Regions from separate parts of the Homo sapiens genome. Here region 2 is linked to region 1. Evidence: promoter capture Hi-C in human tissues and cell types (Jung and others, 2019). All regions are on one chromosome and are shown on one strand. Each heading gives the region's core, a stretch centred on a gene start or on the middle of the fragment in contact. The rest is flanking DNA. Distances are from core to core; before and after follow the strand shown.

Region 1 (4,783 bases), core at 1,599-4,098:
TCTACAATCTTGCAAGGCGGTTTACATCATCTCCACTTTACAGTTCAAGAAACAAAGGCTCAGATTCATAGCCCCTGAATAGTCCCTCATAGTCCCTGAGTTCATAAGTAGTGGTTATAGTACAATCTAAGCTATTTAATTCCAAAGCCAGTGATTTTTCTGGCCGTGAGCTATAGGTCCAAAGGCTCCAACAGGGCCCTCCAGACTCAATGGCAGGGTGGTGTCTGCACAAGCTGGAAGTGTCCTTGTGATGAGCCCATCAGGAGCGGCCCGGATTGAGCATCCCCCTCCACATCTGCAGCACAGAGTCCCGGCGGGTGGTGTAGGGTAAATGTTTGATTCGGAACAAGTGTCTGGGGACGATGTTCCCGCTGGGTGTATACAGCTTCTCCCCGTCTTTGCCCAAGAGACTGCGCAGGGCCAGGTTGCCCGACAGAAGCTTCTCATAGAACTCCACTCCACCACAGGCATAGGCTGCAGAGAGGGAGGCCGTGCGGCGGTCCAGCCAGGACTCCACGGCATGAGTGAGAGAATCCTGGGAGAAGGCGTAGGCCACAAAGCCTGCCACTGCTGCCACCAAGCTGAAGGCAGCCCGTAAATTCATGGGGCCTGCATGGAGCCCCAGGGTGTACTTGGCACCCACGCCCAGTGCCCAGGTCCCTGCCAGGCAAGCTGGGGCCAGCAGGGCGTGCACGGCAGTGGTACTGCTTTCCAGGTACACCACTTCCCTGGCCAAGGCGAACTTCTGGGCTTCACGGGACAAGGTCAGGGAAGCTCTCAGCCGGGCGCCTGCTGGGCTCCGCCAGTCCACTGTATGCCCATGTATGACCACGGGATGGTTAGTGTTGATCACTAGGTCTCCCAAGAAACTGGCAGGGATGCCCACCACAGCCCCAGCAGGGAGTCTTGGGAAGCCTGCACTCACAGGTTGGAAGGTGAAGGTGGTGAAGGGCTTGTAGCAATGGCCTGAAGGAACACCTATGTCCTGTAGCACCTCTTGGAAGAGGCTCTGCAGCTGTGGAGGGAGCGGAGCTGGCTGGCCCTGAGGCCAGTACTGGTAGAGCCATTGGACCACGGGATCCGGGAAGAGGTGGTACGAGATTGGAACTCCAAACAGGCCTGCACAGGAACCCACCAAGAGGCCTGTCCTGTGTCTCTGCACAAATGCTGCGGTCCGCCACAGGGGACCTGCCATGAGTGTAGTCACTGCGGACAATCTGGGCCAAGAAAAAGAGAAGTCAGCCAGTTTCCCTGGGTCAGCCTGCAGACTGAACATCCTCCAGGGTCCACACCACCTTTTTAAACCAAAGTAACACAGCATAGTGGTGAAGAGTGTGGGCTCTAGAGCCAGAGTGCCTGTGTTCAAATCCCAGCTCCGTCTCTGTGCGTCAATTTCCCCATGTGCCAAACAGGTGTGTCGTAATGGCCCACCTCTAGGGTGGCGGTGATGAGCACATGAATAAACATACATAAAACATTTAGTGTCTGGCACAGCAGCAGATATTCCTTATAATAATGGCTGTAATGACTTTTATTCCCATCGCTGGGCACGGCACTCCAACTGCCTCATTCCACTCATCCCATGGTAAAGCCCTATGATTACTAATTTATAAGGAAAAACGTGTTCAATTTATTGAGTGCTTACTATATGCTAGACTCAGTTCTGAGCACTCTTACCGATTGAACCCTCACAACCCCATGACCTAATTACTACAGCTAACCCTATTTCAAAGCTGTGAAAACTTAAATGGCCAAAATCCTAAGCTAGTGAAGTGACAGTGTTATGGGCTGCACTGTGTCTCCTCCTCCTCCCCAGTTCATATATTTAAGTCCTAACCCCCAGTACCTCAGACTGTGGCTGTATTTGGAGACAGGGTCTTTAAGGAGATAATTAAGATAAAATGAGGCCATCAGTATGGATCCTAATCCAATTTGACTGGTGTACTTATAAGAAGAGATTAGGATGCAAACAGGCACAGCAGGAAGATCATGTGAGGATCCAGGGAAAAGGCTACCACCTACAAGCCAAGAAGGGAGGTCTCAGAAGACACCAACCCTGTTAACACCCTGGTCTTGAACTTCCAGCCTCCATAACTCCCAGAGGACAAATTTCTGCTGGTTGGGCCACCCAGTCTCCGGTACTTCGGCATGGCAGCTCTAGCAAGCTAACACAGGCATAGTCAGGTGTCCACAGCAAACTTTTTGTTTTAGAAAACTTGTTATGCCAAATTACAAGCATATACCAAAGTAGACAAAATAGTACATCCATCAACTTCAATCCCATCAACTCATGGCCAATCTTGTTTGATTTCTCTTTCCACCACACTTCCGTCCAACTGGTTTATTTTGAAACATCCCCGGGCATCCTATCACTTCATCCGTGAATACGTCAGTAAAAATTCACAATTATTTCACTTTGATTGAAACTTACTGTATTCCTGTCCGTGAAAAGTGCTTAATGAGCAACGAATGAGTTGCCGCAAACAAAAACGCAGGGTACCGCTTGGCCTATCTTAATCAAGAACTCCTATAAGAATCATTATCATTCGGGCTTTTTTTTTTTCCCAATGCGGAAAGTGAGGCTAAGAAAGGAAAGGTCTGGACCAAAGTCCAACGTCCCTAGGGCCATCGCGCTGCGGGGTGGGCCTAGAACACAGTACCATGCAGCCCGCCGGTGGCTGGGGGAGGAGGGGCTGCAGGAGCCCCGCAGAGGGGTCCTCGCTACGCTTCCACTCTGGGCCCCTAGGCTACTCCGCAGTCTGAACGCGTTACCGGGTCGCATCAGGCCGGAGAAGGGTCCCTCCCGCTCGTCCGTGCGCTCACCTCCGCCGCCGCTCGGAACGCCTACATGTGCGCGCGGCAGGGCGGCCGCAAAGCACGCCGGCCGGGGATCTGGGGGCGGGGACTTCGGGAGGCGGAGCTCGCCGGCCCCGGATCTTGGGATGGGGACTTCAGGGGGCGGAGCTCGCCGGCCGGAGATCTCGGGGCGAGGATTTCAGGGAGGGGAGCTCGCTCGACGGGTCTGGGGGCGGGACTCTTGGGGGTGTGGCTGGGGGGGCCTCAAGGGGATGTCCGTGGGGGGCTCCGGCCGCCGCAGAGGCTCCTTCTCTAACTGTGCACCTTGGGGTGGGTCCGCTAGCACTTCCTCCTCTGCGTTGAAATGCGTCTTTGATTAATACAAAAATTAGCTGGGCGTGGTGGCGCACGCCTGTAGTCCCCAGCTGCTGGGGAGGCTGAGGCAGGAGAATCGCTTGAACCTGGGAGGCAGAGGTTGCAGTGAGCCGAGAATACGCCACTGCACTCCAACCTGGGCGACAGAGCGAGACTCCGTCACACACACACACACACACACACACCCCGGTGTCTTTGATCATGCCACACACACACACACACACACCCCGGTGTCTTTGATCATGCCACACACACACACACACACACACATACCCTGGTGTCTTTGATCATGACACACACACACACACACACCCACCCCGGTGTCTTTGATCATCACACACACACACACACACACACACACACATCCCGGTGTCTTTGATCATGCCGTTGAACCCCCGAAGGAACGGCAGCCCCGCGTGGGTCACCAGGCGGCCTATGGCAGGGCCCCCATCAGAACCCATGCCCATCTGACTGGCCGGCCCGTGTACTTCTCCGTCTGGAAGCGCTCACCCTTGGCGGGGAGCTCTGAGCTTTATGTTTATTACCATGTTCGCTGCCCCCCAAGCTCCTCCCAGGTGCTTCACACTGTACAGTCCACAGAGCAGCGTGCCATCTGTCATTTCTCCTTTCCAGCTGCTCTGTGAGGTAGATGAGGGATCATCTAATCTGTGCACCAAATCCAGCTCTCCACCTGCTTTTGTAAATAAAGTTTTCTTGGAACACAGCCATGCCCAATCCTTTACAGAGGGTGAAAACAGACTGCCTAGGGTTAAAGCCGGGCTCCACCCCTTACTAGCTGTGTGATAAAATGAGTTGGTGTATATGTAACCTGTGCCTCACGGTTTGTGCCGCCTAGCCATTAGCTATTATTATTAAAGTCTGTTCTGTTTCTGAGCCCCCCCCCCCAATTTTGGCTGCTCAGTTGTTTGTATGTAAATAGTGCAATGTGACCTCAGCCAAAGCCAGAATGTGGGACATTCTACAGGGCAAATGACGTGGTTTATCCAACAAATCAATGGCATAAACAGGGAAGGAGGGGGACTCAAAAGAAAAGAGACTTGAGAGTCATTGCAGTTAAATGCAATATGTGACTTTTATTGGGATCCTGAACCAAATAAACTAACTGTAAAAAAGACACCTTGGGCTGGGCGCGGTGGCTTACGCCTGTAATCCTGGCACTTTGGGAGGCCAAGGAGGGCAGATCACCTGAGGTCAGGAGTTCAAGACCAGCCTGGCCAACATGGTGAAACTCCGTCTCTACTAAAATACAAAAATTAGCCAGGCATGGTGGCACACGCCTATAATCCTAGCTATTCAGGAGGCTGAGACGGGAGAATCGCTAAAACCTGGGAGATGGTGGTTGCAGTAAGCCGAGATTGTGCCACTGCACTCCAGCCTGGGTGGCTAAGTGAGACTCTGTCTCAAACAAACAAAGGAACAAACAAACAAACAAAAGGCATCTTGGAGAAATTTGAATTTGGATTTGAATATTAGATGATATTAATGAATTATTGCTTATTTCATCAGATGGGATGATGACATGGAGTTTATATAAACCAAAAAATTCTTACTAGAGATGCATACTGAAGTGTTTACAGGTGAAATGACACAA
Region 2 (4,719 bases), core at 1,789-4,288, 360 kb before region 1:
AACACTGGTGTGTAAGTATCTGTTTGAGTCCCTGCTTTCAACTCTTCCTGGTATACACCTAGGAGTGAAAGTGCTGGGTCATATGCTAATTCTGTGTTTAACTATTTATATATTTTTTATTTTTTCTGAGATACAGTCTCACTCTGTCGCCCAGGCAAGAGTGCAAAGGCATCATCTAGGCTCACTGCAATCTCCACCCCCGGGTTTCAAGCGATTCTCATGCCTCAGCCTTCCAAGTAGCTGGGACTAAGGTGCACAACCATGCCAGGCTAATTTTTGTATTTTTAGTAGAGATAGGGTTTTGCCATGTTGGCCAGGCTGGTCTTGAACTCTTGGCCTCAAGCATCCCAAAGTGCTGGGATTACAGGAGTGAGCCACTGCACCCAGCCGTATGTTTAACTTTTTGAGAAACTGTCAAACTGTTTTCTACAGCAGCAACACTATTTTACATTCCCTCTGAAAGTGTATAACAATTCCAGTTCTTCCACATCCTTGCCAACATTTGTTACTTTCTCTTTTACTTTTTAAAACCAGCCACTTGATAGGTATGAATCAGTCTCTCTCATCGTGGCTCTGATTCAAATTTCCATTCTGATTAGTGATGCTGAAAATATTTTAATGTGCTTATTAGCCATTTATATATGTTCTTTGGAGAAATGTGTAAGTTCTTTGCCTATTTTCGAATTGGCTTTTGGTTGTTGTTGCTGAGTTGTAGGAGTTCTTTATATATTCTGGATATTAATCTCTTATCATATATCTGGTTCGCAAACATTTTCTCACATTCTGTGGGTTGTCTTTTTACTCTCTTGGCAGTGTCCTTTAATACACAAAAGCTTTGATGAAGTCCAACTTATTTGTTGTGCTGCCTGTGCTTTTGTTATCATATCCTACAAAATCACTGCCATATCTAATGTCATGAAGATTTTTTCCCTGTTTTCTTCTATGAATTTTATAGTTTTAGGTCTCTATGTCTTTGAGCCATCTTTACATTAATTTTTGTATATGGTATAAGGAAAAGGTCTGACTTCTTTCTTTTCCATGTGGGTATCCAGTTTTCTCATCACCATTTGTTGAAAAGACTGTCTTTTCTCCACTGAGTGGTTTTGGCACCCTTGTCAAAAATCATTTTACCATATTTACAAGGGTTTGTTTCTAGTCTCTCTATTCTATTCCATTGGTCAATGTCTGTCTGTATTGCCAGTAACACACTGCTTTTTTTTTTCTTTTGTAGAGATGGGGTCTGGCTATGTTGCTCAGCCTGGTCTTGAACTCCTGGTCTCAAGCAATCCTCCTGCCTTAGCCACCCAAAGCACTGGAATTACAGGTGTGAGCCATCACACGCAGCCCCACAGTTTTTGATTCTGTAGTTTCGTAGTAACTTTTGAAATAAATCAGGAACTGTGAGTCCTCTAACTTTCTTCTTCTTTTCAAGATTGTTTTGGCTCCCTTCAGATTCCATATGGATTTTAGAATGGGTTTTTCTATTTCTGCAAATAACATCGTTTGGATTTTGATAGGAATTGCATTTAATCTATGGATCACTTTGGGTAGTACTGTCTTCTTAACAAGATTAAGTCTCCAAATTCTTGAACGTGGGATATCTTCCTTCTTATTTACATGTTCTTTCATTCCTCTCAGCAGTGTTTTATACTGCAAGTCTTTTGCCTCCTTGGTTAAATTTATTCCTAAGCATTTTATTCTCTTAGATGCTATTATAAATGAAATGGTTTTCTTAATTTTGTTTTCAGATCATTGCTAACTTATTAGCACCATAAGGTTTTTTTTTCCTGCAAAATCTTTGGTTTTCTACATATAAGATCATGTCATCTTAAATAGAGATAATTTTATTTCTTCCCTTCCCATTTGGATGCATTTCTTTTTTCTGCTGAACTGCTCTGGACAGAAGTTCCAGTACTATGTTGAACAAAAGTGGCAACAGCAGATACCTTTATCTTGTTCCTGATCTTAGGGGAAAAAGGAACTCCTACTTTTGAATTTCATTTATTTCTTAATTTTTATTTTATGCTTCATATTATATCCTTTCTTTCCTCTTATGGAAAGAATTCTAAATATGATCTTCCAACTCACTAATTTCTCCTTCACCTTAACTGATCCTAATTTCATCCCATCAAATGTGTTCTATAGATTATACTTCTTATACCTAGTATTTTCCTTTGGTCCTATTAAGTAAGTTTTTGTTCTTGTTTCATGTTGTTAATATCTTTTAGAAAATTTATTAGACTTTTCTTTTTATTCCATCTGCCTTTGCTTCTACTATATACACAAAGATATTAACAACATAAAACAAGAAAACACACACATACACACAGTTTGTTATCTTTTACTTGCCTTTTGAGGTGCTTGCGCTCATTTGTCTCCTTATTTTGGACATATTTATTTGGGAACATGAGTTACTTTCTCTAGATTATGTGTAACAAGAGAAAGGCCTGACTCTAGTCTGTATCAGCAACATTTAGCACTGAGAAACCCCTGGGGGAATAGAAGAATTCTAGGGAGGAGAGCCCTAACAAGAGAAAATCACAGTTAATCACTTTCCATTATACAAACAACTCCCTCAGGTTAATAATTCATTCTTTGTCCACAGATGAAAGTAGCATTGGGAAGGAGGCATTTTCTATAATAATAATTCACTGCTCTCTAAGAGTTTGGTGGAGGAAGGGTAGGAAATTTAGGTAAGGGAATTTTAAGGATAAGGATTTTTAGAGGTGAGAAACTTTTTAGGCAGTGCTATTATGATTTATTCTTGAAGACACTTCCACCCACTGTCTGAGTTATTGCTATCACACCCCTTAAAAGAGATACTAATTATCAAGACAAATTTGGAACAGGGGGTAAGACCTCCATCCAAACTGCCTTTTACCTCAATTATCCTTCCACAGCCACAGGAGCAGCCCCCTAAACCAGACTGCAGCCACCATTACCACACACACACTCCAGTATCAACACTCCTTACCTGGGACTAATTTTTCTGTCTTAAGTTTTATGATCATTCATGGGTTAATCTTAGGACACTAGAAGCCCTTATTACTTCATTATCTTGTCCCAAACAGGGCAAGAATTCTCATTAAAAATTTATGATTGGGAGTGATCTTAACTTCCTTCAGGGATGAATTTCTTTTAAAATTAAAGATCTGTTTCAAATACTATTCCTAATTTGATTTATTCAACAATTTTTTTTAAGAGATGGGGGTCTCACCATGTTGCCCAGGCCAGAATTCAGTGGCTATTCACAGGTGTGAAGACTGCACTACAGCCTCAAACTCGTGGCCTTAAGCAATCCTCCCACCTCAGCCTCCTGAGTAGCTGGAACTACAGGCACTCTATCACTGAAGTTGGTTTATTGAACAAACATTAATAGAGCGCTTACTATGTGCCAGGCACTGTTCTAAGCAACTAAACAGGAAAACAAAACAGGTAAGCCCCTGCCTTCAAGAAGCTCATATTCAATTAAAGAAAAAAACAGCCAGGCATGGTGGCTCATGCCTACAATCCCAGCACTTTGGGAAGCCAAGGCAGGAGGATCACTTAAGACCAGGCGTTCCGAGACTGGCCTGGATAACATAGCAAGACCCTATCTCTACAAAAAATTTTTAAAAAAAATTTTTTTAGAAGAATCTTATATCCTAGCAAGGGAAGAAAATATTATGCTAGCGAGTGATAAAGGTTATACAGAACAAGGTAACTATGGGAAATGGTGTTTACATGGGGCCCATTTAATAAGGGAGATTTGAAAAAAGACTGAGTGACATAACTATGTAATTACCTAGAGAAAACAAATCCCAGGCAGAAATTACAACAAATGCAAAATTCCCAACTGTGTATGTGCGTTTAAATAATAAAACAAACCAACTGAATATTTCAACATATTTGTTCTAGCAACACAATGGAAAAGGAGGAGAAAGTCATTATTGGAAATGAAAAAGAAAACTACTGGTTTTAAACAATGCTTGTAACAACAACAAAGTACTGCTAACAGTTTGACTGACTGACTGATTTTGAGATGGGGTCTCGCTCTGTTACCCAGGTTACAGTGCAGCGGCATGCATGGCTCACCACAGCCTTGACCTCCAGGTCTTAAGGAATCCTTTCGGCTCAGTCTCCCAAGTTGCTGGGACTACAGGTGTGCACCATGATGCCTGGCTAATTTTCGTGTGTGTGGTTTTTTTTTTGTTTTGTTTTGTTTTGTTTTTACAGGGTTTTGCCATGTTGCCCAGTCTGGTCTTGACTGCCTCAGCCTCCCAAAGTGCTGGGTTATAGGCGTGGTCACACTGAGCCCAGCTAACAAATTTAACTGTGCTAAAATTTGCTAATGGCAATCACTACACTACAAGTATTTTTATTCTACACTACAAAATATTTCTACACTACAGCAGAAAGCCACACAAGTCTTCTGCTGAATTCATCTATCTGGTACCAAACTTATATGTTTCCATTACTTTCATTCTAAGGCATAGCTCTAGAATCAATTTCATATTCCATCAACATTCTATATTTGCTTCAAGACAAAAGGGAAGCATTGCTTTAAAAATAACTCTCCTCCTTATTCTGCCAAAGCATCATTTGCTAGACTATTGAAATACAACAGTTGTGTTCTAAGGTGAGAAAGAATGGGCTTCTGCCAGCTAGACAGCTGCGTCCTCAGAACAAAAACCTTTTCAAGGTTATACATTGACTCCTCCTTAACAGATGCTAGTTCTA

What was found. Contacts are between HindIII fragments. The study calls those that stand out against the background at their distance.
Region 2: a contact is called between a fragment that was not itself captured here and the fragment with the promoter of TMEM177 in region 1, in 2 of the 25 tissues and cell types used here (mesenchymal stem cells and stomach).

Annotation. Positions count from the first base shown.
Region 1 is chr2:119,677,266-119,682,048 of GRCh38, reverse strand. It overlaps TMEM177 (transmembrane protein 177), which reads right to left and starts at 2,848. Exons shown (of 2, transcript NM_030577.3): 1 at 2,773-2,848; 2 at 1-1,217. The coding sequence starts at 1,195. The coding sequence ends at 260. RefSeq lists a silencer at 2,772-3,001. The HindIII fragment of the contact is 8,254 bases long and covers 1-4,783 here.
Region 2 is chr2:120,034,162-120,038,880 of GRCh38, reverse strand. All of the region lies in intron 2 of EPB41L5 (erythrocyte membrane protein band 4.1 like 5), which reads right to left. Among named protein-coding and RNA genes, the nearest start is that of EPB41L5, 23 kb to the right of the region's middle. The HindIII fragment of the contact is 6,408 bases long and covers 1-4,719 here.